4 separate regions of the Homo sapiens genome follow, and all the other regions are linked to region 1. The links are contacts of gene promoters, found by promoter capture Hi-C in human tissues and cell types (Jung and others, 2019). All regions are on one chromosome and are shown on one strand. The core of a region is centred on a gene start or on the middle of the fragment in contact, and the rest is flanking DNA. Distances in the headings are between cores, read along the strand shown. Region 1 holds the start of FGF6 (fibroblast growth factor 6). Region 2 has its middle 4.6 kb from the start of FGF23. Region 3 has its middle 22 kb from the start of FGF23. Region 4 overlaps FERRY3 (FERRY endosomal RAB5 effector complex subunit 3).

Region 1 (6,914 bases), core at 1,292-3,791:
AGCTCTCCACACCCTCCCCATAAATAACTTTGATATTTTTTGAGGCCTGCTCTGAGGTCTTCCTTTTTAGCTTGCTTATTTCTGTCAAAGGAACTCTCCATTTCTTCAGCCTCATCGGGATGTTTGCCCCGCCATATTTTGGAATAAGCCAAATGATGGGCCGAGGGCTGCAGGAAAGAGTAGGTCAGTGAGAGCAGAGGTTTTCGTCAATGTGCTTAGAAGCTGGTTGCATTAACCCAAGTGCCAGCATTGGCACTCCCAGAGGTGACCTATGGGGGTGGGGATGGGAATGGGTGGGACTGGTACCAGCCTAAAGTGTATAACGGGTAGGCTGCTTCTCTAGCGTACGTGATCGGAGACCAGAGGATTGAAAACCCTAGTGCAGAATCTCAGCACACTGATGAGGATGAAAATAGCCTCCCATTCCACTCCTCCTGCTGCGCACGAGGCTGGGGCATCTTGCAGGGCGCGTGTCATGGAGCAGCGCACCCAGGCAGAGAGACAGACTTGCTCTCGGGGCCTCGCCAGTGCAGGGAATCACACCTGCTCACAAGCCTGGATGCCAGAATGTGGGTTTCCCTCTGGCCCACGGGCTCCCTGAGCTGTGGTTTCCGTTTAAGCACACGGGCTCCGGCCGGCAGGTGGGAACAGAAGAAGCACGGGCCAGGGCAGAGGACAATCACCCGTGAGGCTGAAGAAGCACAAGCTGCAAGGCCCCTCCCTTTCACAGGCTCCTCTCACAGCCTTTCCTTTCCCATTTAGATAGTCACTTCTCTACTCAGGACTTCATATTATTTTCTTCAACTGTGTAAGCATCAAGCCTTGTAAACCTGGCACTTCCCCGGCCTGGTGAACTCACCGTTGCGTACAATCTTCCTTTACTGTTCATGGCAACGAAGAGGGCACTTCTCACTCCAAAGAGACTCACCACGCCTCGCTCCACAGTGGAAATTTCCAGCAGGCCTGACAAGGAAAGGGGGGCCACATTACCTAAGGCTTGTGCAAATCAGAGTGGGAACTTGAGCCGACAAGGGCATCTCAGTCCATCCCCCTTCTCCTAGAAAGCCAGACTCTCCATTGCCCCATCCATGATCCCTCTAACTCTAGGAGACCCTGGCTGCTGGACTCATCGAGTGCTGCCATTGTGCTGTTAGAAATCCAGTTCTGCAAGGGAAGGTTCTGATAGCAGAGTTAGGGGCTGCAGTGACCACTTAGCTATCTGTTTAAGATGAGCTTTGAATCTGGGCTTTCAGTGACATAATTACTTGAGGTCCTTGACTTGAGTAAAAAAATAAATTCTGATTCTTCTTCTTCTTCTTAATGTGTACTCTACATGTTTCAACAAATCTCAACCCACTTAATCTTGAAAACACAGCAGCCACACCATAGCTGATGGCTTTCTTGGATCCTGCAGCCCCCATCCTTTCTTGGATAGGAGACTAACCATACAGCAAGCTGGCAGCTTGCAGGCAGCTTGCAGGATAAGAACCTGGGGACAGAGGGAGCCGCTGAAATAAAAAGAAGGATGTGCTTCAGTTGGACATTTTGCAATTGAATTTCCCTTCCTTCTCCAAGAAAGAAGCTGAATAAAAATGAGCTTGTGTCAAATTTGATCCAAGTATACTAACTGATTCTCCCTACCCAGGCCTTGGGGGCTTCCCAGACTAATGGTTCCTAATGGTCTTACAAGGCATCAGATGGGCCAGTAATGCTGAAATAGTTAGTGCCACTGAGGATCTAACCAAGGCGATGGCAAAGAACACCAGGATGCTTGGACCGCAGTATATTGAGCTTGCACCCAGGCAGGGTCACGTGGAATCATCTAAGTGGTGAGCAGCATTTCTGCCCCCTTTATCGTGCATCCTGTCCGCTAGAGCAGGGCCCCTTCACCTTTTAGCCCTGCATGAGCCCAAACCCCCAAGCGTCCCGACTGGCTGCAGCTGGCACTCACTGTAGGGGTTCTCCTCGTGGGTCCCGCTGATCCGGCCGTCGGGGAGCACCTGGAGGTGAAAGCCGATGCCCACGTTGCAGTAGAGCCTCCGCTGCCGCTTGATCCCCACCAAATAGCCACTTTCCCAGTTCACCCCGGCAATCTCTCCAGCTAGCCCGGCGCGAGACCTGGACAGCAGGGTGCCCCAGCCCCTCGAGTCCAGCAGCGTGTTGTTGGCACGGGTGCCTGCAGGCGAGGGCACCACCATGCCCACTAGGATGCCTAGGAAGACGAGAGCCCACAGCGTGCCCTGCAGACGTCCTGCTCCCCGGGACATAGTGATGAACAGTTTCTGTCCCAGGGCCATCCACCTTGCCTCTCAGGCACGTGGTCAGAATTAATGGCCCTAAAAATACCGCCCTTCTTGTTTTTCTCCCTCCGGCATGGCGGCAGGGGCTTATTTTTGGAAGGCAGATGAAGGCTGCTGACATGAAACCAAAGCCTCCATCGGGCACTCGGGTTGAGAGCAGAGGGACCCAGGCTGAGCCGCGGCCGGTAGAGACCATGGCTCGGGGACGCTCTCTAGCTCGCCCGCTTGCTCCGTCCCTAGTTGATGATATTTGATTTGACCTATCTTTATAGTTGCTTCAGCAGCCCGGCCCTCCCCTCCACCCATCATCGCCCTGACGTCAACCCGCCCAGCTCACTTATCCAGGGCTGTAACATTAACCTGCTCTTGGGCCTGGCTGCCTCCCCAGACCCCCATCACCCTCCACACTCCCCAGGGGTTCTGGGAGCCACTGTCATTCCAACTATGAGGCAGGAATGAAGTGAGCAGGGAGCATCTCTGGGGGAGGGGGGAGCTGGCTGGGGGCCCAGGGAAAGAGAGAGGCGAGAGGCCACCCAGGACCCATATTGGGCAGAAGTTCTTTGCCTGGCAGCGCTGGCTTCCTTATTTAGAGGGCAATAGGTAGAGGCAGGGATGGGAAAAGGCTTGTGGTAGTGATGACCGTAGCCTCAAGTCACCCTTGAGATCTTTTCATGGAAACAGCTCATGGTGGAGGGGAACACTGAAAGGCCAAACCCTTTCAGCAGGAGGGCACAGACATTCTCAGGGGGTGGGGATGGGGGTTGTTCAAGGAGCTTTAAGATTGTGGAGGGAAGGAGGGCAAGGGCAAGGTTTGCCTGCTCACTGTCCTGGTCCCGACATTCACCTGGGGTGGAAGTTGTGTCTGGCCTTTGACACAGCCCCCTGGCCATTCTCCCTGGATTTATCCCTGGCATGTGACTGATATTATTCCCATTTCACAGATGAGGAAGTTGAGGCTTAGAGAGGATAAATGACCTGCCCGAGTTACCATAGCTAATAAGTAGCAAAGCCAGAACTTCTAAGGTGTGCCTGAGTCTAAAGCCTGTGCATGTCTAATGCTTGCAGTAGAAGTTGGCTGGCCCATAGAGTCTGTTTAGCTCCTTAAATGCCAATAGCACATCACAGAGTTATTTCAGTAGCATAAAATGATTTATTTCTTAAAAAAAACTTGAGTGTCTTTGATGTACATGAGAACTTCTATATTTGCAGATAACTTTTGCTGGGCTGATATTACACTCAGAAACTAGTAAAAATATTTCTGCCAGGAAGTTATTCCTACACTGATTTATCTTATTCCCATATTACTTTTAAATAGATTACATGTCTAACTGAAGTGAGAAAAAAAATGTAAAGCTACCAGAAAACTCACTGCACAAATTTCTATACAATATAAGACAGAACTATTAATACGTCTCTGAGGGTGAATAAGTTAACAAGGGTCGCTGGGGAATTGAATTAACTTGAGTTAAAAATCCTGTTTCTTGTACTTCAATCCAGGCCTTAATCTGTTGGTGAGACATTAGCACTGATTTTGCCGGGATTGGAGAGAGTATGTGTGGGGTGATGACAGTGGCATACAGATGGATTTGAGTGTCCTGAGCAGTAGAGCTGGTCCCAGCAGGCAGCTCCCTTAGCCACACTCTACACCCACATTGCAGGCTGCAGGCAGCCTGGAAAAGCTCCTGGGGTGAGTTCCATGGCCCAAGGACTCTACTGAGGCACCACCGCCTTCCCTCTGATTCTAAACCTTCTGCTGTGCCCTGGGTCCCAGCCTCTGGTCTGTGGCTTCTACCTGCCTTCTCTCTGCCCTTCTGCCTCGTTCACTGGGTTCGATGCTTTGGTTCAAATTTCTGTCAAGCCATGTGTTTAGTGTTGCCCTAGACATGCCTTCTGAAATCCTGTGAAGCCCAGATGTCTGTCTTTACCCTCAGCTGGTAAACTGAATGGGGAGGGACATAGGCACCACTTGTTCCTACTGTCACCACGGCCCCCTGACTTCCCCATTGGCTTCCTCTCCCTTCCACTGCCGTTGTCCCATACCCAATCTCATCATCACCAGCACTGCCATTTCCCATGAGGAAAGATGATGCCTTATAGGCTCAGATTGAGTCTACTATGTAGGCCTTTGTTGGAAAACTGTTTTTAAAAATCCTTCTGCAAAGTAAAAGGTTCATGAATAATCCGAAGACAAAGTTGTCAACAAAAAGAACTTCACTTTGGATTTCCAGCTGGGTTTCATATAGTTAAGCTTTCATGGATGCAAGAGCAGTGGGGACACTTTCTCAGTGATGTTGTTTGGAATCTTGTGTTAATTATGCTGGTGGTCCTCACTTAGGGAAGAGACAGTCCAGAAACATGTTGGATGGTAAGGAGAAGTCAGTCTGAAGTTAACACTTGCCTTGGATAATCGGAGAGGTGCTCACCAGCAGAGCTCAGAATCTCTGTGGAATTTCTTGGAACCCATCCACTTTGGGACTGCCTTAGGAGAGAGATTAAACTATAACAAGGTCCATGTCATATACCAATAAAAATGGTAACGCTCCTTAGATTCATCTCTTCCTGGATTCCTCTCTGTGCAGAGGTTCTGGTTGATGTCTCATAAAGCAATGGGCTTTGGAATGGGGACACCTGGATTTGAATCTCAACTCCACCATTTAGTAGCTGTGTGACCTTAGGAAAGTTCTGGACCTCTCTGAGCTTATTTTGTCATCTGCAAAATGATATCATTACTTCCTAAGGTTGTTACAGTGACTAGCAATAATACATACAACTGGCCAGTGCAGAGCGCAGTATAGCTATTTCCCAGAAATTTCCCTGAAACACATTGAAAATCTCTCACCCAATTAAAGAGGACAAACCCAAAGTGAGAAAGACCATCTCTCATCTCACGGTGTGGGAGAGACACGTGGGCTTCCAGTTCTTCATTGCCATCCGCCACAGCATATGTTGTGATGGCTGCTAACATATGCAGAAGCAGGCAGCCCAGATTCCTCAAATGTTCTGAAAACCAGTGAGAGCCTTGGTGTCGTCCCCTGTTAAATTTAAAACTTAAGTAATTCATGCTATTAAAAAGCCTGGGTCTTATTTTTATCGGGTGATGCGATGAGGCCCTGTTCTGAATGTACCTCCCCTGCCTGTCTCTATAGCAACTTTACTGTGCTCATATAGCCATATATTTTTCCTGAAGGCTAATTAGGTTGACAACTGCTAGGTCTTCTTGGCTTACCAGATTTGCACTTGACCCTTCTCTTGGGGCTTAGGGACCCCTATGGATGTGAAGTGATAGAGAAAAGAGTAACAGGTGGAAGAGGCCTCTCTCCATGGACCCCTCTTGCAAATAGTTGGCCAACAGCCTTTGGGGATTGTCAATCACTCTCGCTGGATGAGCCAAGATCCAGTGGAGGTGAGTGGGAAAATACGTTAATGTCTATCTCCTCCCACAACAGGGTCCTTGTCCCCAAGGGGGATACCACAAAATACAGATTTGTCAGATTTGGCAATGCTTAGCCACACCAACCTTCCGCATCATCTGCATGGCAGAACTCCCTCCGTCACATCAGGTGGTTGCTCTCTGTGACTGCTGTGTGTTACATAATCAGGATCAAATGCCTGATGGGTGACCAAAAGGGAAAGCACATAAAACTCAGATGAGCCTCATCCACGTAGATTGTGAAAAGCTGTGCTTACTTGTACTTTTTACATTTGGTTTTGAAAAACTAGCATTTGCCTTTTTCTATAGATAATTTGGAAAATGTGGAAAATGATAAGGTGGAAAACAAAATAGCTGTTTGTGCTTAGTGTCTTTGTCTCTTTTGTCTCAAAGTCTGTCTTTGTGTGAGCTTGGCACAGCGGCCTTGAAGCCTCCCTGTATCTCCTCCCCATCTTGCTCAGACAGGCAGCTCTGCACCTATCCCTGGTTTTTTTAGTGGTAGAGATTGCTCACAGGATTTAATCGGCATGAGATGGACATGTGTAGAGATGAGGATCGAGGAAGGATTCCTGCCCTAGGCCTGAGCAAAGAGGGACATTTGCAGCTCATAAACTTGCTACATGAGGGAGAATTCAAGAGAAACAGTTTCAACTGATCAACAGTGTCCAGGTTGGACTTCCGCAAAGACAAGGCAGCCATTATCTTGCTAGCTATTCCCTGGGGAAACCTAAACTTTGTACTTTCCTAGTAGAACTCAACTTTTCCCAGGCCTCACCCACTTACACAGTGGGAGCCATTAACAGTTATAATCCACATTTCCCTAGTTCTTGCTTCTTCCAACTCATGTGGAACTTCACCCCACTACAAACCACCCCCAAGATATTTCTGCAGTTTCAGAGCATGTCTCACATATGTTCACGAGCATGTGACTGCTTCTGCCTGGGCACATTGCCAGGCACCTGCGTGGATCTCCCTGTTCTCCAGCCTTTCCACCTCCTGCTGGGCAGCCCGGGGGTGTTCCCTTTCTCACTATAGCTCAGCACCTGAAGCCCTCAAGGAGCCAGAACTGCTTTATGTTCTGTTTCAAAGCCAGGAAGAATACCTTAGTCCCCGTCTTCATGTTATACCTATTAAGGAAATACCTGGCCAGTACTACTCATGCCCTGGCAATCTGCTGATTTGAA
Region 2 (6,914 bases), core at 2,945-5,444, 61 kb before region 1:
AGCTTACAGGTATAGACAGAAAGAGATGGCATTTGTTACCCTACATTTGTACAGTTTTTTTTTATAGTTTACAAAGCATTTTCACATCTATTAGCTTATTTGAACCTCACTGCCACTCTGTGAGATAGGCACTCCATGCATTATCAAGATTTTAATACTTTACATGAAGAAATGGAAATCTTAGTGTTTCCATGTCCAAAGGCACAAAGCAAATAAATGGTAGAGCCAGGACAAGGTCTTCTCCTTCCCTAGGCTGCTTCTCCAAAGAATCACAGCAAGAACTAACGCTCATGGAGAGCTTACTGTTCCACTTACTGCTCTAAGTGCTTTACTTGTAGTAACCCATTTCATCTTCAGAATAACTCTTTGAGGAGATGCTGTTATTTTCTTTATATAGATCAGGAAACTGATCTATGCACACAGTTTAAGTAACTTGCCTAGAGATAGAAAGGTAACATGTGGAAGAGGTTGGATTTGAATCCAGGTCTGGCCCCAAGACCTCCTAAGCACTTTTCAAGGTGTCCAAACCCATACAACATGTTAGAGCTAAAGCCATGAGAGCCAGGAGCTTGGTAAAAAAGTGCAGGTGGCAAAGCAGTCCTCTGTTATTCTCTAAAAACCCAGGCTTTTACCCAGGATGAATCTCTAGGACACATGGTGCTTGTCTCCCCAGGGTTGAGTGGAAGAAGTATGACATGAAATGTTTATATGTAAAACAGTCTTCTTTACTAATAGCCACAGAATGGATTATAAATATAATGCTACGTCTTAGCTAATTGAAGAAATAGCTAGCTTTCAGAATTGAGATGCAAATCACTTAGGAACATTTGCCCTGCATTTCTTATTCTGGTTGTGAAAGGTAAAGAGATGGGAAGTAATTATAAGGCAATCAGCAGCCATTGAGAACCTTCTCCATGTAAGAGATGAAAGGGAGGGTGTAGGACTACAAAGCAGGACTAACTCCTCTAGGGGCTCCCAGTGTAACTGAGCAGGGAACATCTTCGTTCAATACAAGGCACTGTGTGGGAGGAGCTTCATTACTAGGAGCAAATTAGTGAAGATGTGGTACTATATTTATAAACCATTCTGTGGCCATTACTAAAGAAGCCTGCTTTATACATAAACATTTAATGTCATACATCTTCCAAACAACCCTGGGGAGACAAGCACTATGTACCCTAGAGATTCACCCCGGGTAAAGACCTGGGTTTCCGAGAGAATCATGGAGGAGTGCTTTGCTGCCTGCACTTTTTTACCAAGCTCCTTCACAAAAAAGAAATGTTGACCAGGCGTGGTGGTTCATGCCTGTAATCCCAGCACTTTGGGGGGCCGAGGTGGGCAGATCACTTGAGGTCAGGAGTTCGAGACCAGCCTGGCCAACACGGTGAAACCCTGTCTAAACCCCGTTTAGTAGAAACCCTGTCTCTATTAAAAATACAAAAAAATTAGCTGGGCGTATTGTGTAATCTCAGCTACCTGGGAGGCTGAGGCAGGAGAATCACTTGAACTGGGAGGTGGAGATTGCAGTGAGTTGAGATTGCACCACTGCACTCCAGCCTGGATGACAGGGCGAGGATCTGTCACCAAAAAAAAAAAAAAAAAAGGTCATGGTGGGTAGATGCTGTGGTCAAGGAGGGCTTTGAGGGAAGGAGAGAACTGAGGGAGCTTTGTAGGATACACAGAGAAGGGTTTTCCCCAGCACCTGCCAAGCATGATGGAGAGGGAGCACAGGTGTCTTGGGATAAGTCCACAGCCATTCGGTCATTCCCCTAGCTCCTGGAGCGACTGGGGAAGGGGCTCCTCCGTGGCCACCTCAGCTTGTCTTATTAGGAAAGAGAGCCCTGTGCCAGCTTACCCAGGTCCAAAGCCTCCCCTCCAAGAAGAAGCCCTGTGTGCTTAGCATCTGGCTCTAATGGCAGAGTCCAGCCCAGAGGAGTAGACTTATTTTTAAGGAGGATGGGAGGAGAAGCAGCATTTCCCACTTAGAGAGAGTAAAGGAAGGCGCAAGAATCTCAGATTAATTCTCCCCATTTGAGATAGGGAAACACTGAGAGCGGAGATGAAGATTTGCCCATTGGAACACGGAGACAGCAGAATGTCCAGCTCCAGGCTGAACTCCCTACCAGTGGCTTCCAAATCTGGCTGCTCACTGGAATTACCTGTGGAGCTTTAAAGCCATAATTGCCCCAGGACTAATCTTAGACCTACTGAATCTGCAGGGGCAAAAGTCAGTTATTTGTACTTTATTCAAAGCCACCTGGGAGATTCTAATTCTCCACACCAGATGTGGCTGATACTAAAGTACTTATCAATAAACAGGCTTTGAGCGCCAACCACACATCAAGCACTGGAAATAGTACACAGAGACTAAGGCCCTCTTCAGTGGCAGGCTCAACTTTCCGTTCCCTTCTAGGATGTCCATCCTAACTGCAGGTCAAGATGTAAATGGGCCTTTCTAGGGAATTTAGTACTGAATGCTAAATCAGTACCTCGTGCTGACAAGTACCCTGTCCTTGAGTCCAGTGCATGGTCTCCTCTGAAGCTTCAGTGGGTAAGAGAAGGGAGAGGCCAGGACATGTCGGTTCCTGTCCTTTGCACCTAGAGGGCACTCCTCCGTCACAGTTCAGGTCCAAGGGTCTGGGAACCAGTGTGACCTTAGGAGCCCAAAGAGAAACACAGATAGATACCAGCTGTGAACAGGAAGCCCAGGGAGGAGGCCCTGGGTTTGTGCTGTTTGGACGTCACTGTCCTTGGTTCCCAGGTAGCTACCTGAATGCAGCAGATAGGCTGGTCCCATGGCAGGCAGGGAAACCTGTTGTCTCCAGCCTGGTTTGGAACCCACTTCTCTGGCATTAAGAGAATTTGCCCCGGGAGCTGTGTGGAAGCATCAAGTCTAGTCCCTGCATTTACGCTCATAGAATCAAGGCTCTTAGTATAGATAAGGGCCTATAAGAATCTGTATTCCGGCTGGGCGCAGTGGCTCATGCCTGTAATCCCAGCACTTTGGGAGGCTGAGGCGGGCAGATCACCTGAGGTCAGGAATTTGAGATCAGCCTGGGCAACATGGTGAAACCCTGTCTCTACAAAAATACAAAAATTAGCCGAGCATGAGTGCGTGCCTCTCGAGCGTGCTGCTCGAGAGGCTGAGGCAGGAGAATTGCTCGAACCTGGGAGGCAGAGGTTGCAGTGAGCTGAGATTGCACCACTGCACTCCATCCTGGGTGACAGAATAAGACCCTGTCAAAAAAAAAAAAAAAAGTATTCCTGCAAGTTCATTACTTTCCTTCATCTCCTGACTTCTTTTTATCAGCATCTGCTCTGAGAAGGTACTGAAGAAGATTCTCACCCAGATCATGTTCACTCAAAGTAAAGACTGGGCAATAATTTTCAAACAATAACATCAACTTCATTGTCCTTAGCTATGATGAAAAAATGTCAGAGGAATCAAGGTAAAAAAAAAAGCTGGGAGATAGGAGAGAAGGTGATCTCACGGTGGCTTGCAGCCTTCTTTTCTTTTTGAGATCCTGGAAGGACCTGGCAGGCCTCTGCTCCCTGTCCCTTCACTCCTCCTGAGTCTGTCTCCACCATTTCAGTAACGGTGTCCCTGCCCTCTTGCTTTCTCAGAGCATTACATGTCGTCCAGACCTCCAGCGTTCAGGGAGATGGATATCTAAGCCATCTAGAACAAAAATTTTTTTTTTTTGGCTTCTTGAAGTTCTCTGGAGAGGTGCCATTCCTGTATCTCATCTGAAAATGTCATCCCAGTGTCATCTTGACAGCAAAAATGTGCTTCCCTATAGCCAATCTGATTCTCTCTTGCTTTAATGCATCCAAGCAATCAACACATAACTTTTTATGGAAAGCCTGTTATATGGCTACTACCTTGTAGAAAATCTTTAGAGAAGTCTGAGAATGAAAAGGTACAGTCCTGATCTTCAGGGAATTTGCAATCTACTAGGCAGAATATTCTTTGTATTTGTCTAGCACTTCACAGCCCATAAAGTACACTCATATCTATTGTCTCTTCTGAGGCTCAAAACAGTCCTATGGGCAGGTCTGGGGGGTGTCGGGGACGACTTTCCCAAGAGCATCCTGGCTCCTGATACACACATTCTGTTATCGTAGGAATTTAAAGAAAAGAGAGAAAAAAAACATGACTTTAAAAAATCTGTTTTTATTAAAAAGTAGATCAATGCAGAAATGTATGAAGTAGAAAGTGAATATACAATATAGTTTGTAACCTCTAGAGGTAAAATGTTATCAAAGACAAATTATAGCTTTAGGGCATATATATAAAATATATATTATATTTAATATAATAAAATACATTAATATATTGCCAATAATACATGTTAATAAAATATATAATGTATTAATAAATATTTAATAAAATATGTATATATTTATATTTATGTATTTCTAAATAGGTACATATTTAACATTATATATTAATACTAAAGTGTATATTATATATAAGTATATATATTTAAATATGCACTTTTATTTTAAAATTTAAAAAAAATTTTGCATCTATCAGCCAGAAAAATACGCACTTTTAAAAGACAAAATTGAGGGCATACCGTATATAATATATACCCACTTTGTCCGCTGAAGTCTATTTTGACCACCTTTCCAGGTCAGTATGCATATCTTTACCTCATTCTTTTAAATTATTCCATTCCATTGTATTTGAAAGTGGTCAGCTCTTCTGAAAGCTTCATTTCCTTCCAAGCTCTGCCCCAGAGGCTTTTGTGGTGGTTCCCAAGGCCACAGGACTTTATGTTTACATGTATGTGTATATACACATACACACCCATTATATACATGTGCATACATACATATAAACAGATACATACACACATATACATATAATAATGGCCCTGCATGGGATGGCACTGGTGGCTGGGGTTACCGCAGTTCTCTGCCACATCAAGAACTTACCCCCTTTTAGTCTAGAACCAATACCTCCCATAGAATCAGTCTCCAGTTCCCTTCTTTCCCTCCAAATGACATGTTCAATTTCTCCTCCCCAAGACAAAATTTCCAGCTTATTTTTGTCATGGCAGCCTTTCCAAAATAAAGGCCCACGGGAGGGCTTGTCTTCAGGGCAGCCTTCTCCAATGGGCAAGGAAGCCTGGAATTCCAGCAGCGGGGGGACATCAAGGCTTGGAAAGGGGTTTGAATCCACAGAAGATGTAGCGGTGCTTCTCCACGGTTCAGCTGTGATAGTTTTCACTTCTGCCACTATGGCCAATAAATCTCCACACTTGCAGTGATCTCATAAAGACCACACTTGTTAATTTATAAATATGGCCACTGATAGCTGGTAATGACTGCTGATGACAAGGTGACAAGGATGGGCATAGAAGTGCTATTTACCGAAGCCTTTGGAAAATAAGCTACGATTTTCAAACGTGTAATATAAAATTTGCAACCTATTTTGAACTTAATACAGAGCATAAAGTTTTTATAAGAATAGGAAATGTTTGAGGGTATTTAAATATGCATATCTGAGTGTTTATTTATTTAGAAGTTTAAAGTCGTTCAAAAGTATAAAACAGCTATGCTGAGTATCAGAATTCTGAAGAACATTAGAAGAGAGAGGGTAACTGAAAAGAAACTGATGCAAAAACCATGCAAAAAGAATGGCTGCATAAAAAAGAATGAATTCATGTCCGTTGCAGCATCATGGATGCAGCTGGAGGCCATTATCCTAAGCAAACTAATGCAGAAACAGAAAACCAAAGACCACATGTTCTCACTTATAAGTGGGAGCTAGACATTGGGTATGCATGGACATAGAGATGGGAACAACAGACACTGGGAACTACTAGTAGGGGAGGGTAGGAGGGAGGAAAGGCCTGAAAAACTACCTATTGAGTACTATGCTCACTACGTGGGTGATGGGTTTAATCATTCCCCAGACCTCAGCATCACATAATATGACCTTGTAACAAACTTGCACACGAACCCCCGATTCTAAAATAAAAGTTGAAAAAAAAGTTGGGGGGAATGCCTGGAAACCAGCAGAAACAGAGAAACCAAAGGGCTAATCAACAGCAGGTGCAGATGAGAGAAGCCAGCCAGGAGCTAATTACGTTAGCCAATGACATAATTACAGGCAAGAGCATCACTGGCAAGTGCTGTGCACAGTGAGTGTGGCCCTGTAAGATGTTAGGGGCTGTAGCTGAATACAGCTGATACACTATAGGCTGTCATTCATGGGTAGTTAGTTGTCACTTCGTCCACTGCCTGAGACAGCTGCACAACAGGAGAACTGAGCACAGGGAGGGCACACAAAGTCAAGGACTGGGGCACAGGGATGTTTGGAGCAGTGGCACGCTTCTGTACGATGCTGTGGGTACATGGCACTATGCATTTGTCAAAACCCGTAGAACTGTACGACACAAAGAGTAGACCCTAATGCAAACGGTGGACGTTAGTTAATAATAATGCTTCAATAGTGTTTCATCAGTGATAACAAATGCACCACACTGATGCAAGATGTTAATAGGGGAAATTGTGTGCAGAGTAGGGAGAAGGAATATATGGGACCTCACACTTTCTGCTTAACTTTTCTTTTTTTTTTTTTGTATTTTATTTATCTTTTTTTTATTTTATTTATTTATTTATTTTTTATTATTATACTTTAAGTTTTAGGGTACATGTGCACATTGTGCAGGTTAGTTACATATGTATACATGTGCCATGCTGGTGCGCTGCACCCACTAACTCGTCATCTAGCATTAGGTATATCTCCCAATGCTTACCTTTTCTGTAAACCAGTAACTGCTCTGAAAAATAAAGTCTATCAAAAAAATGAGAGCAAAATTCAGCAAAATGGTGAGCAAAATGAGCAAAATGGTGTTTGATCAATAGGTGTTCAACATTTCATCGCTGCCTGGAATTATTCA
Region 3 (6,914 bases), core at 3,226-5,725, 43 kb before region 1:
AGGGGTAAAAAAATCCATAATCTTTCTGAACATTAATGATTATTTGATAACAGCTTAGTTTATTTTCTTCTGATCTTTATTTATTAAATAATATTTTTTGTGAAAATAATACTCATAATACCTTAAGAAAAAAGAGTAAAAAGAACAAAGTAAAAAAAAAACTCACTTGGCTGGGCGCGGTGGCTCACGCCTGTAATCCCAGCACTTTGAGAAGCCGAGGTGGGTGGATCACGAGGTCAGGAGATGTAGACCATTCTGGCTAATACGGTGAAACCCCTTCTCTACTAAAAATACAAAAAATTAGCCAGGCGTGGTGGCACACGCCTGTAGTCCCAGCTACCCAGGAGACTGAAGCAGGGGAATCCCTTGAACCTGGGAGGTGGAGGTTGCAGTGAGCCGAGATCGCACCACTGCACTCCAGCCTGAATGACAGAGGGAGACTCCATCTCAAAAAAAAAAAAAAAAAAAACCACTCAGTGCCTTTGTTAGTCCGTTTTGTTCTCTTATAACAGAATACCCGAGACTGGTTAATTTATAAAAAACAGGTATTTATTTCTTATAATTCTGGAGTTTGGTAAGTCCAAGGTTGAGGAGCCTGCATCTGGTGAGGGTTGTTTTGCTGTGTTATTCCATGGTAGAAGGCAGAAAGGCAAGAGGGCAAGAGAGCATGGGGCAGGGGGAGGGAGAGAGAAAAAGAGAGGGAAAGAGAGAGAGAGAGGAGGAAGGGAGGAAGAAGAAAGGAAGGGAAGACAGGAAGGATGGAGGGAGGGAGAGATTGAACTCACACCTCAAGCTTTTTTATAATTGGCATTAACCCATTTATGAGAATGGAGCCCTCCTAGTACTGTTGCACTGGGGATTAAGTTTCCAGCCTATGCTTTCTGGGGAACACATTCAAACCATAGTACCACCCATAAATATCCACCCTTGAATGAACATTATTTCATATATATATATGTTTATGGATAGAATATTAGGTAAAAATGTTAACAGACACACTTATAAAAATTGGATCATACTATTTGTGCTATTTTTTAAAACAAATGTTTAATTAAATGTTACTTGGATTTAACAGAAGAAAAAGAAATGGAAATCAAACTGAAGGAACTGGTGAAATTTAGTTAAATTTGTCTTTTCTATTAAATGTGTCCTTTGCACAAGAGGTATTGTTTTAATAAAATCCTTCTACATTTAAGAAAACAGGTATGAAAATATTGTGAGAACCATTAAGAGATTAGAATAATTGGCTATATATTTTTGGAAACTTATTTAGACAGTTTAAATTGGGTAAGCGCTATGAAAAATAAGATAATAAGCATTTCTCACATGTCCTCTCTCCTCACAACTCCCTAATTTTGTTAATTATATTGTTAATTTTACACTGTCAAAAGTTACCAGAAAATTGTCAAAGTTTATGTTGTTGAAATTTGTTCTGTAATCATAATTTCCACAATTGTTCAGTCTTCCTTCAGCATCTAATAGTTTCAGTTCTTACCACCAGTACTTTTTTGACTGTTTCTCCTTTCTTGAATTTTTATTTGGATTTATAGTTTAATATATAAAATCTTATAATCAAGTAGGTATTTTTCCTCCAAGTGTGATTCCTGGGTGCTATCTTTTTAGAGAAAGAACTTAGAAATTATTTTTTCTTTTTGCCTTTGTGTTAAATGACTTCTTGATGGTTATAATTTTGGGTACCATTTTCTTTTCCTCGAAACTTTGTAAATATCACTACATTGTTTTCTGACATTAAATATTGCTTTTGGAAGTCTGAGGTCGGCTTGGTTTTGCTCCTTGTACATTAATTGCTTTTGTGCGTAGCTTTTGTTCTTTTGTTTGTTTTTTAGGAAGGCCTTACTAAGTGCCAGGCACTGTTCTCTTTTTTTTTTTAATACTTGAGTTATAGTAATTAATTTAACATTTTATATCATCTTCAAGATGCTTGAGGAATTCTTGAAGTTCAGTACATTAACTGGATATATCTTGGTGTTGAAGCTTCCATGTTAGTTTTTCGTGAAACCAGTATGTGTAGATTTGATTCTTTCTGTATTTCCAGGAAAATTCTTGTATTATATACTTTTAATGTTTCTAGTCCATGTCTTGGCTTCTTTACCTCAGGGACGTGAAATACCTTATGTTGTGTGGTCTCTCACCATCCTTTAGATTTATTGTTTTTTTCTCTAATTGCTTTTAGTTCTTGTCTTTGTCTTCTGCATCCACTGGCACTAGCTAAAGCCTTTCTACTGGCAAATACATTCACATGAAGTGTATTGTTCTGCTTCTTCTTTATTTATTGCTTTGCCTCCTTATTTCTTTCCTTAGCACTATAATTTTCCTCTCCTCCTCTCTCCCCCGCTCCGCCCCTCTATGGTTCTCTCTCTGCCTCTCTGTCTCTGTCTTTCTCTCTTTTGTTCTTATTCTATTGTTTTATCATCTTGTCTTTGAGTTTTCATTTTAATCAAATTCATGTTCCTTTAAAGATTTATTTTCTATTGTAAAACACTTGTGAAGAATTTCCGTCTTTTCCTTGGATTATGTCTTCTTCCAGAATGGGTTCTTTGTTTTTTGCATGCTGTGATTCCTTCTTTGCTTTTACTTTGCTTTTTCTCTTCCTCTCTCACTCCCTCTATTCCTTCCTTCCTTCCTTCCCTCCTTTCCCTTCTTTCCCTTCCTTCCTTCCCTTCTTTCCCTTCCTTCCTTCTTTCTTTCCTCTGTAGTATTTTTGCATACTTTCCATGCTATTTCTTTGTATCTTATTCGTGCCTGGGCAGCTCCATGCCCACCTTCCGTTTGCTCTGGGTTTAGAGATGAGGCTGAAGAAAGCTCTGCAGAATCTATTGGATTTCTATTGGATTATTTAACTCTCCTTTCCCTTCTGAGATTTGGTAAAGTTTCTAGTGTCATGGGTTACTCTGTCTTCTGGATTTCAAGGTATAAAACCTTTTTTAAAAACCAGGGTAACACTATTGTGGTGGAGTAGATCTGGTTCAGGCCAGGTGCAGTGGCTCACACCTGTAATCCCAGTACTTTGGGAGGCCGAGGTGGGTGGATCACCTGAGGTCAGGAATTTGAGACCAGTCTGGCCAACATGGTGAAAGTCCATTTCTATCGAAAATACAAAAATTACCCAGGCATGGTGGCACACGCCTGTATTCCTAGCTACTCTGGATGCTGAGCCAGGCAGGAGAATCACTTGAACCTAGGAGGCGGAGGTTGCAGTGAGCTAAGACACACCACTGCATGCCAGCCTGGGCAACAGAACGAGACTCAGTCTCAAAAAAAAAAAAAAAAAATTATATATATATATATATATAGTTTTTTTTTCTTCACTGTTCTTCCTGTTAAGAGACAAAGGCTATCTCTGCTCCCTCAAATCTGGATTGGCCTATGACTTGTTCTGGTCGGGAGATTATGGCTTAAGTGGCATCGCCTAACTCCCAAAGCTTAGCCTCAAGAGAGATGCGGCTTCTGCTTTCTTACACTTGGAATGCTCCCTCTTGGGAGCCAGCTGTCACATAAACAGTCTAAATGGCCTGAGACCACCATGCCATGAGGAAATCCAAGCTAGCCACAGTGCCAGACATGTGACACCTTCTTGGACCTTTCAGCTACCAGCTAAATGCAAGTAAGTAAATGATCCCATCTGATGACACATGGAGCAGAAGAGCCACCCATTTGAGCACCATTTAGTCTCTTTACTCTGCTTCACAGAAGCCTTCTTTGGGATCCAATCCTCTGTCCAAAAAGTGATGCTCAGTTGCCCTGGCCCTGGAGCCTTGAGAGCTGCTTCAGGGCTGGAGCACTCATTCGCTCATGGTAGCGTCAACCTCCACTGCCTGGGGACTCTGTGGAGAACCCTCCACCTCCATCTCCAGTGAAACGGGAGCTCAAGGGCTTTCCTTTCGAGGGTCCTTGCGGTCTGAGAGGGGACAGGATGCTGTGAAGGGCCTGCCTTTATCAAGAGACGGGGACACAGGGTCCTAAGAACCAAAAAGAGAACACCTGAAAATGTATGGGGACAGCCAAGAAGCTGTGGGGAAAGAGGGGCAGCAGAGTCCAGGGGTATTGGCAGGTGCAGAAACCCCAGGGCTGGCGGACTGAGGAAAAGAGTAGAGCTCTTTCTTCACTGCCTCCCCTGAGATTCGTGGAAACAGAAACTTTCCTTTTGGAAAAGTCACTTTCTTTATGCCATTTCTATTTTTTGTCATTACTTCCTTGTTGTTTCACCTGAAGACTTAGAAAAGTTTCTTTGGGAAATGTCAGCTGCCTCACCTCTCCTGAAGAGATGTCAGGAAAAGGTTTCTCTTTGGTTGGTTTGTCAACAGGACGGGTTGCAGTGGGGAGAAAACCCCATCAAGATGGCAAACACGGATAGAAAAATAAAAGTGTAGAACTTTGATCTCCTATCCAATTAAACATGCCACTCCCACTCCCACCTGCAAGCACAGGCTGGACCCGCAGCTTGAGGGGTTGGGGTGGGTCTGCTTCTCCCATGCTGCCCGCTCAGCTCCTGGAGGCAGGGGTCTCCTTGTGTGTCTACCCCATGTAGATGGTGGCCAGGTGTCCCTGGCCCTCCTCCAGCTTTCTGTGGGCCTATGTGTTGGTAGTGGACTCCCTCTGTAGCAAGATGGTCTCCGTGGAGTGGTTGTGGTTCTTGCCATGGTGTTCAGGTTCACTCCACCATCCTGTCCCTGAGAAATCTCCTAAAAATTTCCTAGGAAAAATCAAGTATTCTTTTGGCCCAACCAGCAGCACTTGCCAGCGAGTGCTTCTCTGGTGGGATGTCCCATCTTCCAGCAGGCTGCTGTCCCACACCTCCTACTCCTCACTGACCTGTGAGCTCTCCCCCTTGAAGCCTCAGGAGCTACCAGATCCTCCTCTGGCCCCGCTCTGTGCACCTGGCCTTCCCTAAAGTGCTGGTGGCCACCACACCCTTCCTTCCCAGTTGACTTTTAGTCCACATTGATGGGAGGGGAGACCAAGAGTGGGACTGCTCTGGCTGCCTCTTTAAAGCCTTTAATGAGGGCTGGTGGTGGTGGTGGGGATATGGTTTGGCTTTGTGTCCCCCACATTTGTGGAACTTTGAACTTGAGAGAGACGACTTAGAAAGAAATTTCTAAGCAGCAAAGCATTCAAGAGGTAACTTGGGTGCTGTTAAAGGCATTTAGTTTTATAAGGGAAGCAGAGCATAAAAGTTCAGAAAATTTGCAGCCTGACAATGTGATAGAAAAGAAAAACTCATTTTCTGAGGAGAAATTCAAGCTGGCTACAGAAATTTGCATAAGTAACAAGGAGCCAAATGTTAATCCCCAGGACAATGGGGAAAAGTCTCCAGGGCATGTCAGAGGTCTCTGAAGGCAGCCCCTCCTGTCACAGGTCCAGAGGCCTAGGAGAAAAAAGTGGTTTCAAGGGCTGGGCCCAGGGTCTTTGTGCAGTGTACAGCCTAGGGACTTGGTGCCCTGCATCCCAGCCATGGCTGAAAGGATCCAACATAGAGCTTGGGCCATGGCTTTAGAGGGTGCAAGCCTCAAGCTTTAGCAGCTTCCACATGGTGTTAAGCCTGCAAGTATACAGAAGTCAAGAATTGAGGTTTGGGAACCTCTGCCTAGATTTCAGAAGATGTATTAGGAAACACCTGGGTGTCCAGGCAGAAGTTTGCTGTAGGGGGTGGCTCTCATGGAGAACCTCTGCTAGGGCAGTGTGGAAAGGAAATGTGGGGTCCCCACACAGAGTCCCCACTGGGATGCTGCCCAGTGGAGCTGTGAGAAGAGGGCCACCATTTCAGATCCCAGAATGGTACATCCACTGACAGCTTGCACCATGTGCCTGGAAAAGCTGCAGAAACACAACACCAGCTCATGAAAGCAGCCAGGAGGGAGGCTATACCCTGCAAAACCACAGGGGCAGAGCTGCCCAAGGCCATGGGAGCCCACCTCTTGCATCAGTGTGATCTGGATGTTAGACTATGGAGTCAAAGGAGATCATTTTGGAGGTTTAAGATTTCACTGCCTGGAGATCAAGACCATCCTGGCTCCACTAAAAAAATATATATATATATAAAATGAGCTGGGCATGGTGGTGGGTGCCTATAGTTCCAGCTACTCAGGAGGCTGAGGCAGAAGAATGGCATGAACCTGGGAGGCGGAGCTTGCAGTGAGCTGAGATCACACCACTGCACTCCAGCCTGGGCGACAGAGTGAGACTCTGTCTCAAAAAAAAAAAAAGATTTCACTGCCCTACTGGATTTCAGACTTGCATGGAGCCTGTATCCCCTTTGTTTTGGCCAATTTCTCCCATTCGGAACAGCTGTATTTACCTAATGCCTGTACCCCCATTGTATCTGGGAAGTAACTAACTTGCTTTTTGATTTTACAGGCTCATGAGCAGAAGGGACTCGCCTTGTCTCAGATGAGACTTTGGACTCTGGACTTTTGAGTTAATGCTGAAATGAGTTAAGACTTTGAGGGACTGTTGGGAAGGCGTGATTCGTTTTGAAATGTGAAGATATGAGATTTAGGATGGGCCAGGGGCAGAATGATATGGTTTGGCTCTGTGTCCCCACCCAAATGTCATCTTGTAGCTCCCATAATTCTCACATGTTGTGGGAGGGACCCAGTGGGAGATAATTGAATCATGGGGGTAGGTCTTTCCCATGCTGTTCTTGCGACAGTGAATAAGTCTCATGAGATCTGATGGTTCTAAAAAAAGGGGTTTTCCTTGCACAAGCTCTTTCTTTGCCTGCTGCCATCCATGTAAGATGTGACTTGCTCCTCCTTGCCTTCCACCGTGATTGTGAGGCCTCCTCAGCCACATGGAAATGTAAGTCCATTAAATCCTTTTTCCTGTATGAATTACCCAGTCTCGGGTATGTCTTTATCAGCAGCATGAAAACGGACTAATACAGGGGGTGTAAG
Region 4 (6,914 bases), core at 3,276-5,775, 40 kb after region 1:
AAGATTGATATGTCACATCAAAATTTAAGACCTCTGCGAAAATAAAACATAATAAAAAGTAAAACAACAAACCACAGCCTGGGAAAAGAAAAGAGGTTTTCAAGAATACCTAATAAAAGTTTAATATTTGGGGCCGGGCGTGGTGGCTCAAGCCTGTAATCCTAGCACTTTGGGAGGCTGAGGTGGGTGGGTCATGAGGTCAGGAGTTCAAGACCAGCCTGGCCAACATGGTGAAAACCTGTCTCTACTAAAAATACAAAAAATAGCTGGGCGTGGTGGCGAGTACCTATAATCCAAGCTACTTGGGAGGCTGAGGCAGGAGAATCGTTTGAACCCAAGAAGGGGAGGCTGCAGTGAGCCAAGATCACACCATTGCACTCCAGCCTGGTTAACAGCGTGAGATTCCATCTCAAAAAAAAAGTTTAATATTTGGAATATAGAAAGAATGTCTGCAAATTCAATAAGGAAAGGGAAAACAATGGAAGAGAAGAAAATGGACAAAGGATTCAAACAGACAACTCATGAAAAGGGAAATCCACGCAGGGAGTGGTGGCTCACGCCTGTAATCCCAGCACTTTGGGAGGCTGAGGAGGGCGGATTACCTGAGGTCAGGAGTTCAAGACCAGCCTGGTCAACATGGCGAAACCCCGTCTCTACTAAAAATACAAAAATTAGCTGGGCGTGGTGGTGCACACCTGCAATCCCAGCTACTCGGGAAGCTGAGGCACGAGAATCACTTGAACCTGGGAGATGGAGGTTGCAGTGAGCCAAGACTGTGCCACTACACTCCAGCCTGGGTGACAGAGCAAGACTCTGTCAAAAAAAAAAAAAAAAAAAAGAAAGAAAGAAAAAAGAAAAGCGAAATCCAAATGACCAACAAATGTGCCATGCTGCTCAACATCGCCACTAACCAGGGAAATGCAAAATAAAACAGTAACGAGATACTATTTTATACTTATCAGAATGGTAAGAATTAAAATTTCCAAAAATTTCTGCCCAGTCTATATGAAGAAAAAGGAGTGTTCACACATGCCATTAGAAGGAAAATTTGGTACAACTATGGAGTTAAATTTGGAATTTCTTAAATTTTAAGATGTCGATAATCCAGAAACTCTTTTCAGAGATATAAACCATGGAAAAACTGTAACATATGTACACAATGATACATGTACAAGAATGTAGTTGCTGTGGCACAGTATGAAGTGACACAAAAGTGAAAGCAACCTCACTGTCAATAAATAGGAGAATGAGTAAATACATAAATTGGACTATAGGCATATAATTCAGTCTTCAAATATACTACAGCCAAAATTAGTAAAGTAGCTATATGTATATTAGCGTGATTAAATCCCAAAAGCATGATATTGGATTCTTAAAAATGCAAATGTTGAATGATCTGTAGAAGATAAAGCTTTCAGTACAATACTATATACATCTTATGGCTACACTCTGTGGATATGCATTAAAACTATAAATTAACCTGTAAGAATGAATAACAACAAAGTCAAGATAGCGGTTACTGCCAAGGAGAGACTATGACACATTGAAGACAAAAATATTCCCAGTTCTTCTCCTCATCCTGTGTTCATGCTCTTTTCAATGTGACTTTTTAGCACTTCTCATCAAAATAAGGAGTCTATTACCCCACCTCTTGAGTCTGGGATGGCTGTGTGACCAGATTTAATCGACGACAGAATGTAGTGGAAGTGATGGTGTGTCAATCCTCTTTTCCAGCTCTACTACCACTATGTAAACACGTCTGGGCTAGCCTCACGGAGGATGGCTCACAGTGAAGAAAAGTCCAGCTGTGCCAGCAGAGGTCATTTATACCAGCCTACAGCCAGCCAACCCCCAAACATGTGACAACGCCTAGCCCAGATAATCAGAGTGGCCTACTCGACCCACCACTGACCAAAGACTCAAAAATGAGCCCAGGCGAGACCAGAACTGCTGAGGTGACCACCCGTAGAATCATAAAGAATAAATGCTTATTGTTTCAGCCACTAAGTTTTGGAGTGGTTTGTTCCTCAGAAGTAGCTGATACAAGGAGAGGCTAAAGCTACAGGAGCAAAAGAGAACCTGCATCTGTGATCTTTTATGTGATAAAAAAGACAGCCCTAAAGCAAAGGTGGCAAAATTTTAAGCTTGAACAAAAACAAGTAGTAGGTACATGGTTATTTGTTATAATTTCTCTAACTTCTTTTTATCTTTGAAGTATTTCACGATAAAAGGAAATTCAGATAGCAGAGTCAATGTGCTACACTAGCCAAGACAGCCAAGATGATTTTTAAAAAGAAAAAGTATTTATCCTAGTGCCCCTCCCCCATCCCCATCACCACACACATAAAGTAGACTAAGTAGATTAGTGATTTCTGAGTTCTGATCCTCTTCTCTCATCCCAGGACATCTCCTCTACACCTTCCTAGCATCTAATCCTCTTGCCTCAGTTGCTCATCTGCAAGACAGCAAACACATGATCAGCTTGCTGACAAGAGAGTCCTAAGAGTTGAACCAGGAAAGCATTACAGGGGCAAGTTGTTCATTCAGCTGCTATGTGGGTAGGAGACTTTAAATTCCATAAGTACTTCATACTATTGTTATTTCTAAAATCTAGATTCACTTCATATAAAAAATATGATAGTCCTTCCTGCTCTACTCAAATACAGGGTTAGTCACCTACCCTGTGACTTCCTCCTGACATTCAGATCCTTTGTATCTGAAGTTGTTGCCATTGCTGGCACAGGTGGCATTCTTCCCATCTGCCAGGAGGATTTGTGCTTCACCTGTTGAGAATAATGAGGGTTCAGAGGATACTCACTCAGTGCCAGAGAAAGGCAGGGATAAGCAGTCTGCTTTCAAGAGGCTCAACATCTCTCTTGGCCCAACGTATGCTAATGTTTCTATTTTGACTTCCATAGCACTCTGTGTATGCTTTTTTCTGCACTGACTGTATACCTCTAGTATATGCTAGCTGGTACTGTGGTTACTGTGTGTTTTCCTACCAACTCAATTGGGCTGTAAGCTTCTTGAGGACACGGTGTCTTAAGTGACTTAGCATCCCTTCTATCTAGTGAAAGGAAGAAAGGGAAGAAGGAGAAAGGTCAGACAGGAAGAAAGGAAGGAGGAGACAGGAAGGAATGAAGGAAGGAAGGATAATAGCAGCAAATATTTATAGGATGACTATATGCCAGGTAATGTGCCCTTCTTATGCAATCCTTCCAACCACTCAATGAGGTAGATACTATTATTAATTTTCCCTAGCTTACAGATGAGGAAACATGCTTAACGGGATTAGGTAATATGCCCGATGTAACAAGCCACAGCAAATAAACTGAGGAGTCAGCATTTGAATCAGGCTTAACTTTAGAGACTATGTTCCTGATCTCTGATGTTATATTGTTGCTCAGAGTAGAGACTTTTGAGCACAGATGAGCTGATACCAGGAAATGAGAATTTATTATAAAGAAAGAAAAGGAGAGAAGGCTAGGGAGAAAGGAGGAGACATGCATCAGTACATTCTCCTCCTGCAGATGTCACACCTAACGTATGACAGATGACAGTACAGTTTCTGCTTAATTCCTGAACATGTCAAGAAAGGATCTGTTTGCTTCTTTGGTAACGTGTTCCAGGTTTCATTCTCTATGCACCAAAAATATCTACGAATAGCTCTTGCACCCTCTTGCCGGTGAGAGAAGACACATACAGTCGACTCTCACAGTTCACAGTAGTTATGTTCGATAAAGATGCTGTGAACCCTGAATTAGTGAATACTAAATCATTGCTCCCAAGGGAGACAGAGAGTTAAATTCCTGCAAGGCTCTGACCACAACAGTCTCATCAGCCCATCAAGATATAATCTTGTTTTATGTGTGCTACTGTTGAAAGACACCTTATTTAATACCCATCACTGATTCATTATCATTGAACTTTTGACCAACAGCACTACATTGCCTACCTGGACAGAGCTTATCTAGACATGCGTTGTCTTCATCAGGGACATCACAACCTTCTTGCACTTGGGAACACCAGATAGCACTTGAGCACTACACTTGGACCATTTTGAACAACAAAATCACCACAAAGCAATGGAAAAAAAAACATGGTGCTAAACAGACCCATGAAAGGGACATTTATTTGCACTATGAAAGCTAAAATAAGGCAGCAGAGCATCACCTTGCTCCATCTGAGCTGGGAACATATGTGTTGGGCGACTCAAACATTTTGGTGCTCTGAACATGTCCACAGATAACCTGAAAGTGCTGCCAAAGGCCCTGCTTTTTATTCTATTGGCCAGTTACAACATCTACGTGACTTTGGGGTGATGAATCTATTGTCTTTGTAAATGACTGTATGCTTTTGTAAATGTCTTTAACAATTTCGGAGTTACAAATAAATTTTAGTGAATAGGTGATTGCATAAATATGGTATCTTCAACTAATGAGGATTGACTGTATATAGTATGAAGTTCAGCCAGCCTTAGATTTGGATATATGAGAAAGCCTCATATGTCTTCGATTTGGACATATCCAGAACCATTTTCCTGTAGGAAAACAGGAAATGAACCGCAAGAGAGAACTGAAGTATATGGTAATTTTATCTGTGTATATTTAAATAGGACATTATAAGCACATATTGGTCCTGCAGGCACCTCAGGAGGTTACTCCTCCTTTCCCCTGCTTTAGCTGAAATTTTATTTTAGTTATTAGAGATCATCAGCATCACAGATTACAGAAAAGCCCGCCAAGTCTTCTGTCTTTACAAGTCCCATTGCCTTTGTATAACCTTCTAGGGGCTGAATCTTGCTTGCACTATGCCTTTGTGTATAGAAGAAACTCAGTAAACACTGGCTGTTTATTGAACGAGATTCTCAGGGTCAATCTGCTATTTATGTTTTCTTGATCTCTGCCGTCCCTTTGTAACATATTCTCATGTAAATATTTCTGCCCAAGGTTGTGGTTCCCAGCTTGGGGTTCCTGGAATTAGTGATCCTTTAAGATATTGAGCTATAAAGAATCTCTCAAAAAATACATTTCACTTGGATGATGTCCCACAGGTTAAGTCAAACACCAAGGCTTTGTTTTTGCAAGTTTGCCTGGAATTACACAATGATAATTCTATGCATTTTATGTGGTAATACTAGGCATGAGAATGCACAGTGATAATTGTAGGTGATAATACTATGTACCATTTGCTAATCAGAAGCTTCTCTCCAGACATACCTGTCTTTGATTTAGTAAAAAAGATTGCTCAAATAATTCCAATTGTTTATGTTCTCAAAACATTTCGGGCAAAGATGTGATGGATAATGAAAGATTCTTGAACAAAGGATAGAAAATCACTGATTTAAAAGGTCCTGAAAACATGGTACTTTTTCCAAATAGGTGTTGTATTCTTTTTGCTTCACATTTATGATTTTTATACTTCTATTACTCCTACTGAGCAAATCAGTCCCACTTCATATAAATGGAAAAACTTAAGTCACAGAAAAGCAGCCATTTTCACCTAGAAACTGAAAAATAGAAAATAAAAAGAAACTGAAAAATAGGCCTGAGGCTCGTCTCTAACTTTAGTGGGTTCTTTCTACAGTTCTGTGAATTCTCCCTTAGAGCCTCTAGAAAAGAAATGTTTCTGTGATTTCATCTTTCTTTTGTGAAACATGTTTTCTTCTTGTGAGAATTAGCCAGGATCCAACTGAAGTAACACAAATGATGGTGTGTACTGTGCCAATAAGAGATCTGCCAACTCCCAGGCAAGCTCAGTTTCTTCCCGCTGAAATTCTTTTTCATGCATTTCTTCCATTCTGGTCACACTGTCATGCTGAGAAACAGCTGGTGCCACACTTCTAGATCAATGGCTTTGCTTGTGTGGTGCTTCGAGAGCAGAAATGGGGGAAGGGGGGGAAAGAGCAGCACAGAATGGAGACCTCAGGTTCAGTGCCTCTGCCTGATTTCCAAAGCACACTCTTAAGGCCTTGAGGGCCATTTAGGAATATGTAACTGTTTATACAAATAGAAAACTTCTAACTCACAATCCTCACCAATGTCAATGTTTGTGCTAATCTCCCCATCCTCAAAGACTCTCGTGGTCAGCTCCTCTCAACTTACTGGCCATTTACCACTGCCTCCATTCTGCTTCTGCTCCTATCTGCGCCTTACTCAGTTGTCCCTTGGTATCTGCAGGAGACTGGTTCCAGACCCCCTGCCAATATCAATATCCCTGGATGCTCCAGTCTCATATAAAGTGGTGTAGTAATTGCATACAACCTACACACAGCCTCCCATATACTTAATCCGTCTATACATTACTTATACCAAATACAATGTAAATGCCATGTAAACAGATGTTATATTGTATTTTTAAAATTTTTATTGTATTTTTTTTCAGAATATTTTCCATCCACAGTTGGTTGAACAGAGTGCCATCTGTACCTAGAATGCTGTCTCAGCCCAAGGTACCTTCTTCACATCATTCATGAAGTGCTTTAAACCACTCCCCCTCAAGAAGCCCTTTAGAACACTCAGAAAAAGATCCTCATCTCATAATTCTTGGTCCAAATACAAAACTCCAGACTCCTCAATTACTGCATCACTAAAATTCCCACCATTTCAGTGCATATAATTAGCTTTTTAAGTTATATATTTATTATTAGCTTGGTGTTTGTGTGTTTCCATCAGTGGTAACACCATAAACATGATTCTTCCAATTTTACTACTTCTGTAACACAGTTGCATGTGGAAAACGGACATTCGATAAATTTATCCTGACTTCACATGCCAAATAGTACCTTTACACAGCCCTCAGTTAAAGCCACCAGTTTATAAGTAACTTAGTGGAATAGCCTAGAGGTGACAAAGGAAGAGTTGGGCAGCAGCATTCAACAAACATCCGTGAATGAAACTTTGCTCCTCCATTCC

Evidence for each region. Contacts are between HindIII fragments. The study calls those that stand out against the background at their distance.
Region 2: a fragment that was not itself captured here is called in contact with the fragment with the promoter of FGF6 in region 1 in 5 of the 25 tissues and cell types used here (H1 embryonic stem cells, bladder, heart right ventricle and 2 more).
Region 3: a fragment that was not itself captured here is called in contact with the fragment with the promoter of FGF6 in region 1 in 1 of the 25 tissues and cell types used here (spleen).
Region 4: a contact is called between a fragment that was not itself captured here and the fragment with the promoter of FGF6 in region 1, in 3 of the 25 tissues and cell types used here (lymphoblastoid cells, mesendoderm cells and neural progenitor cells).

The regions. Positions count from the first base shown.
Region 1 is chr12:4,443,274-4,450,187 of GRCh38, forward strand. It overlaps FGF6 (fibroblast growth factor 6), which reads right to left and starts at 2,542. Exons shown (of 3, transcript NM_020996.3): 1 at 1,952-2,542; 2 at 860-963. The coding sequence starts at 2,297. The HindIII fragment of the contact is 16,147 bases long and covers 1-6,914 here.
Region 2 is chr12:4,380,864-4,387,777 of GRCh38, forward strand. No RefSeq gene overlaps it. Among named protein-coding and RNA genes, the nearest start is that of FGF23, 4.6 kb to the left of the region's middle. The HindIII fragment of the contact is 5,845 bases long and covers 1,273-6,914 here.
Region 3 is chr12:4,398,665-4,405,578 of GRCh38, forward strand. No RefSeq gene overlaps it. Among named protein-coding and RNA genes, the nearest start is that of FGF23, 22 kb to the left of the region's middle. The HindIII fragment of the contact is 3,512 bases long and covers 2,720-6,231 here.
Region 4 is chr12:4,481,387-4,488,300 of GRCh38, forward strand. FERRY3 (FERRY endosomal RAB5 effector complex subunit 3) reads right to left here. Exons shown (of 14, transcript NM_020374.4): 14 at 6,349-6,914. Among named protein-coding and RNA genes, the nearest start is that of FGF6, 39 kb to the left of the region's middle. RefSeq lists an enhancer at 4,757-5,051. The HindIII fragment of the contact is 3,885 bases long and covers 2,584-6,468 here.